Linked DNA regions of Homo sapiens: region 1 is linked to region 2. The links are contacts of gene promoters, found by promoter capture Hi-C in blood cells and fetal thymus (Javierre and others, 2016). All regions are on one chromosome and are shown on one strand. The core of a region is centred on a gene start or on the middle of the fragment in contact, and the rest is flanking DNA. Distances in the headings are between cores, read along the strand shown.

Region 1 (2,826 bases), core at 116-2,615, 550 kb before region 2:
ATTCTAGACTTGATCCTGTATAGGGGAGAAAAATTTTGGAATGGACATTGTTAATGTCAATTGGTGAAACTAGAATACTGATAGTGGATTTTTTTAAAGTACTGTGTCAATGTTAAATTGATTGAAGTTGATAACTTTATGTGGTTATGTAAGAGAATGCCCCTATTCATAGGAAATAAACACTGGCATATTTTAGGATAAAGGACCATAATGTATGCATTTAATCGCAAATGGGTGAGAGAGAGAGACAGAGACAGAGAGAGGGCAATGATAAAGTCAGTTGACAATTAGGGCAAATGAAATATAGATGTTCAATATAATATTTCTAGTCTTATAATTTTTCTGTAAGTTTGAAATTATTTTCAAATAACAACTTAAAATACACATTAATAGCTAAAGGAGTGCTCAGAGTCCTGTGTTCCAGCACTGTGCCACTGCATATCAGAAGCTCCAGAGAACTCTAAGAATAAGGCCATGCCTTGCTGAGGAAGTCTGTCTTGGCATTGGAAAAAACTGAGCTCGTATTATTTGTATAAAGAGCAAAAGAACTAAGTGTTCTGTGGCAGTTGTGAATTTGTGAAGTTGTAAGGGTCTTAACTTGTATATGACCCCATATTTTCTGTTCAGCATATATTTGTCTTATAAAAATCAATTGTTAAACAGAAGAAAAAGTAAATAATAATCAAAGGAAGCCCCAGCACGGTGGCTCACGCCTAAAATCCTAGCACTTTGGGAGGCCAAGGCAGGAGGATCACTTGAAGCAAGGAGTTCGAGACCAGCCTGACCAACATGGTGAAACCCCCTCTCTACTAAAAATACAAAACTTAGCCAGGCGTGGTGGCACATGCCTATGGTCCCAGCTACTCAGGAGGCTGGGGCATGAGGATGGGTTGAACCCAGGAGGTGACGGCTACAGTAAGCTGAGATCGTGCCACTGCACTCCAGCCAGAGTGAGACTCTGTCTCAAAAAATCATCATCATCATCATCAACAAAGGAAGAAGAGAAATTCTCATTGCTAAAGCAGAGAATTCATAAAGAGGGTATCACAGGGACATGAAATTTCCCTTTGGTATAGATTTTTTAAATTGTAAGATATAGAGAGAGCAAAGCTGATAGAAAGCCTTCATTTTTCTACGGCTACAGTATCATCTTAACAAGTTCCTGGAGTGTCAAACGCAGGCTGAATTACTCTTTTAGGACACGCAATAAAAGGGGTAGAGATTACAGGGTAATTTGAAGGAGGCTAATGTTTCTATTCTTTTAAATCTGACAACAGATCATATCATCATTTCATGATACTGTGTACTTAAAGTTTTCTTACTATTTTTTCACTGCTTTGGAAAGCAGCCTTAAGTAACGTCTTCCTGTGCAAACTGGTAGAACCATTCTGACCACCCCGTTAACAACCCCGCTTTGGTTGGCGCGAGCCTGACCGGCGGTGCAGTTATCTTCCTGAAGGCGGCGCTGTGCCCCAGCTGTGCTGAAGGAGGCCGGCGTGAAGGAAGGGGAGGGGCGTTCCCGGGCAGAAACCCAGCTGGGCGCCGCGTTTAAAAGCACAAAGGGAGCATAGTCTAGTGAGAAGCTACACGTTTGCAAGTGGTACACATAAGAAGAGAGATATGAGCGGCTTCTATGCCCTACAAAAGCGTCGAAATTAAAAAAGGCACAATCTTTTGTTCTTAAATCCCCAAGTGATAATAAAGATGTTCGCATAGTCATTATCCCATTACCTTTTATTTCGCATTTCTCTCACCTTCTTTTGTCATTTTTTAAACTTTTTCTCCTTCCCCCTCTTTCACTCCAGAATTTGTTTTATAATTGATGTCGATGTTTTCTGTTGCTTAGAAATTAAATTATCAGAAACTCCTTTGTATACTGGTCTCTGACCTATAAATAGCACCACAGCTGCCTGTGACTTACAGCAATTAAAGATTTTTGTGCTAGCCAGAAAAAGAAAAGAAAAGAAAAACCTGAAGGTCCCAGTGTAGCATGTCTAGTTGTTCTGCTGGCTTTATTGGGAGGAAATATGAGAAATGGCTCTTAGAAAATATTTTCCTTATCAATAATTGTTCTTTGGAGTTCACCTTACTCAACGAGGATGTATCAGAAATAATTATTGGGGTTGAATGTATTTCCTGTCAATTAGTGTGGTCTTTTTCCACAAGAGTACTTTCTTTTCATTTTTCAAGGATCATAGACAACAGCTCTTCCCTATAAAAATATTTTTGAATAAAAAGTACCATTTCCATTATAAGATCTTGGCAATCAACATATCTTCTATTATATCCAAAAGAAGAGAAAGGCTTTAATGGGGCCTGGTTATGATTAATAATAGATTTGGTGAAGAAAAAGCCAGCCAGACTTTAAAATAGATGAGACCATTCTTAGTCTTGGTGAGTCTTGGTTCAGCTCATTAGGGAAGCCAGCTGCGATGCAGATTGGCATACCATTTCTGTGACAGAGGAATTTCCCATAAGAGCTCTCTCCTAAAGGAGGCCAGTGTGTTTTTAGGTGAGCCCTGGCCACATCTGGACGATAGAGATGAACTGTGCCATACAGGAGGTGGAACAAGAGTAGAGGAAAACAATACAAATGACTTTTAACATTTGGAAGCCTACTTTTAGAGGGAATACCAACCAAATGGGACCAATAAAATGATAAAATAAGAGGAGTGATTGAAAAATAATTTCAGCACAATCTTTAATCTATGAAGAGCTAAGAGATGGAAGACAGGGAACGGACATGTCTTCTTTTGTGGGAAAGGCAATAAGGAACAGATAAAGGCTGTAGGAAGAGTGCCAGATTGCACTAGGACAAACTGTGCA
Region 2 (2,768 bases), core at 8-2,507:
TTTTCTTGTAGTGATTCTCAAAGTCTGTAACAAAAGACAAAGGAAACCAAGTGTTTATCGTTTTATACTTATCCCTAGAACATCTGGAAAATCATTACTTCTAATCATTTCATTAGTTTCCCTTTGGTATGATTCCAATTTACACTAATAGATTTTCAGGTACCATGGGTTGAAAATGCCAGGTCTGTTTTCACTGTGCTAGGACACCACCCTTAGAGCTTGCGCCTGTTAAGCACCAAAGCACACCAAGAACACAGCAACAATAATTCAACAATCATATCTAAACATTAGCTACTTACTAGGAACCGCAATCTACCACCGATTTCTATGTGCGTTTGTAGACAGCATCAGTGTTAACAATTTTGGCAGCCGAACTCCTTAAAGAACCTGAATTTATGCAACATCCGGAAGCAACTCCTACTTCCTGCCCCTCCGATTTACTTTACCTTGGTAGGCATTCGAACTGGTCCTTTCACTTTGAGATTCTTTTCTTTTGCGCCTCTTATCAAGTCAGCACACACTACAGGAAATAAAAGACCTCTCAGTATAATCGAAACAATTAAAATCGGCTTAAGGCCTTCACTTCTGCTGGCTCAGAATAGCGTATAAAATTATCACCGTTACTCAACACAATAGGTACCTCCTCATCGCCAGCTGTATGACAGTAAAAGCAATTTTAAGCCACGCTTTACTTTTTTAAGTAACTTGTCACTTTAGTTCTTGCAGTCCACCTTCTACACTAACATTAACGAGTAAAGCTCGTCGCTTTTCGCCCAATTCCCCCTCCCCCCCGCATAACGAATGCACTGACCCTTTTCCAAGGATTTTACGTTGCGGCTTGTTAGGGTGATTCGAATTCGGTGAATTGCCACCTCCGGCTCCACGGGTGTTTTTCCGGTATCCTTAAAAGCCTATTATTAGATACATGAAAAAGAACAATAAGCCAAAAATGGTCTGCCACTTCTGGAGAAAGGCAGCTTCCGGAAGCTTCCCGCGTTTCCCCACCATTTCAGGAGCGCCTTTCCGCCCCTACACGCCCCGGCATCTGCCCTCAGGAGCACGAACTCGAAACCGGGGTCCCCCCGGCGCCCGAGCCCTGCGTTGCGCCGCCCGCCGCCGACTGCCGCCTCACCATGGCTGTTGCGCGCGGGCTTCCTGACCGACTTGTTCCTCGGCGAGAGCGAACAGCGGTGAGTCAGGAGCAGGAGCGTGCGGACCAAAAATCCTCAGCCCTTACGACCGCGTCTTCCTCAAAAAGAAAGGGGTGGGACTTGAGCAACGCTTATATAGCACGCTTGCATCCGGGTCCCACACGCCCCGGAACAGGAAATATCCCGGGCCCTAGAGGCGGTCGCACAAGGGCGAGCTGGAGCACTAGTGGAGTTGGCGGGAAAGGCACGGCTGCGGGCGCCCCCTGTCCGCACGGAGGAGCCGAAGTCCCGCAGGGTGGGGTCCCCGCCTGCGCCGAGAGGGCCACCTGGTCGAGAGAACAGGCGACACGGAAACCTGAGAAACTCCTCTGTCTGGTGCACCTAACCCTCTTCCTCATAAAGTGCACACGAACTCTGGTTTTTCCGTTGCAAATTTTGCTTTCTACATAGACCATACCATTCGTTGCTCTCTGAGGATGAGGTAACTTCTCTGAGCTTAGCTGACATGAGCATTGGCAGAAATGCTTCTCGTAATCTGGATAACTTACGTTAGAATTAGTAAGCAGTTATTTTTCATAGCCTGAAACGTCCTGTTGTGATATTTCAGCTCCTGGCTTCCCAGTCCAGCAGAAGTATCTACATCTATTTCTGGAAAGGACCTGAACTTGGCTTCTCGTCCTTCTGGAAAGTGAGGCGAAAATGCCAGGCTGCGCAGCTATCCTGAGGCCCGGCCTGGAACCTGGCTAGCCACCCAGTCCTGATACCTCATCTCCTTTCTGTTGGATAAAGTCATTGGATAAGATCCCCCAGGGTCTTCTTAATACTGAACATCTGTTCATAATCACATAAGTGACCAAGTATAGTGGAAAACCCGAATGGTCAACTGAGCTGAGCAGTGGGAGAGAGCGCAGGGTGAGCTCACCTACACCTGAGCAAGAAGCCGGGGCTAAATACGTGGAAATCACTGAGATGGATTTTGATACAGGGCAGAAAGAAGAGTAAAATCATCTCATATTACTTTCCACCTGAAGCTCTGAGCCGAAAGAGTTATTTGCTCAAACACTCTGAAATGGGGAGGGACAGAGCTCTGACCCCTCCGTCCAGGCCTGTTTGTTGTTTTTTTTTTTTGTTTGTTTTGTTTTTTTTTTTTTGTGAGACGGAGTTTCATTCTTGTTGCCCAGGCTGGAGTGCCATGGCGCGATCTCGGCTCACCGCAAACTCCGCCTCCTGGGTTCAAGCGATTCTCCTGCCTCAGCCTCCGGAGTAGCTGGGATTACAGGCATGCGCCACCATGCCCGGCTAATTTTTTTTTTTTTTTTTTTTTTTTTAGTAGAGACGGGGTTTCTCCATGTTGATCATGCTGGTCTCAAACTCCAGATCTCAGGCCCGCCTCGGCCTCCCAAAGTGCTGGGATTACAGGCGTGAGCCACCGCGCTCGCCCCGTCAGGACTCTTTCTTGAGGTTTTGTCTTCTGTTCCTTGGTAGGAAATTATGTTTGAAACTTTAATCAAATAATAGCATTGTCTTATTTGGTGATAATTGGAACATAACTAATAACTGGGTTTCTTTGGCTCACGATACGTATGAGGTTTTTTGCTGCCATTTTAACAATTATTT

The links. The method cuts DNA at HindIII sites, captures the fragments that hold promoters and counts their contacts. A CHiCAGO score of 5 or more calls a contact.
Region 1: a contact is called between the fragment with the promoter of XKR4-AS1 here and the fragment with the promoter of RPS20 in region 2, in 1 of 17 cell types (erythroblasts). The highest score is 7.1, in erythroblasts.

The regions. Positions count from the first base shown.
Region 1 is chr8:55,519,613-55,522,438 of GRCh38, forward strand. XKR4-AS1 (XKR4 antisense RNA 1) reads right to left here and starts at 1,366. Exons shown (of 2, transcript NR_134323.1): 1 at 1,323-1,366. All of the region lies in intron 2 of XKR4 (XK related 4), which reads left to right. RefSeq lists an enhancer at 1,385-1,474. The HindIII fragment of the contact is 12,203 bases long and covers 1-2,826 here.
Region 2 is chr8:56,073,249-56,076,016 of GRCh38, forward strand. It overlaps RPS20 (ribosomal protein S20), which reads right to left and starts at 1,258. Exons shown (of 4, transcript NM_001023.4): 1 at 1,133-1,258; 2 at 812-911; 3 at 447-520; 4 at 1-24. The coding sequence starts at 1,135. It overlaps SNORD54 (small nucleolar RNA, C/D box 54), which reads right to left and starts at 653; the gene lies at 591-653. CERNA3 (competing endogenous lncRNA 3 for miR-645) reads left to right here and starts at 1,344. Exons shown (of 2, transcript NR_149110.1): 1 at 1,344-1,632; 2 at 1,759-2,026. The HindIII fragment of the contact is 15,741 bases long and covers 986-2,768 here.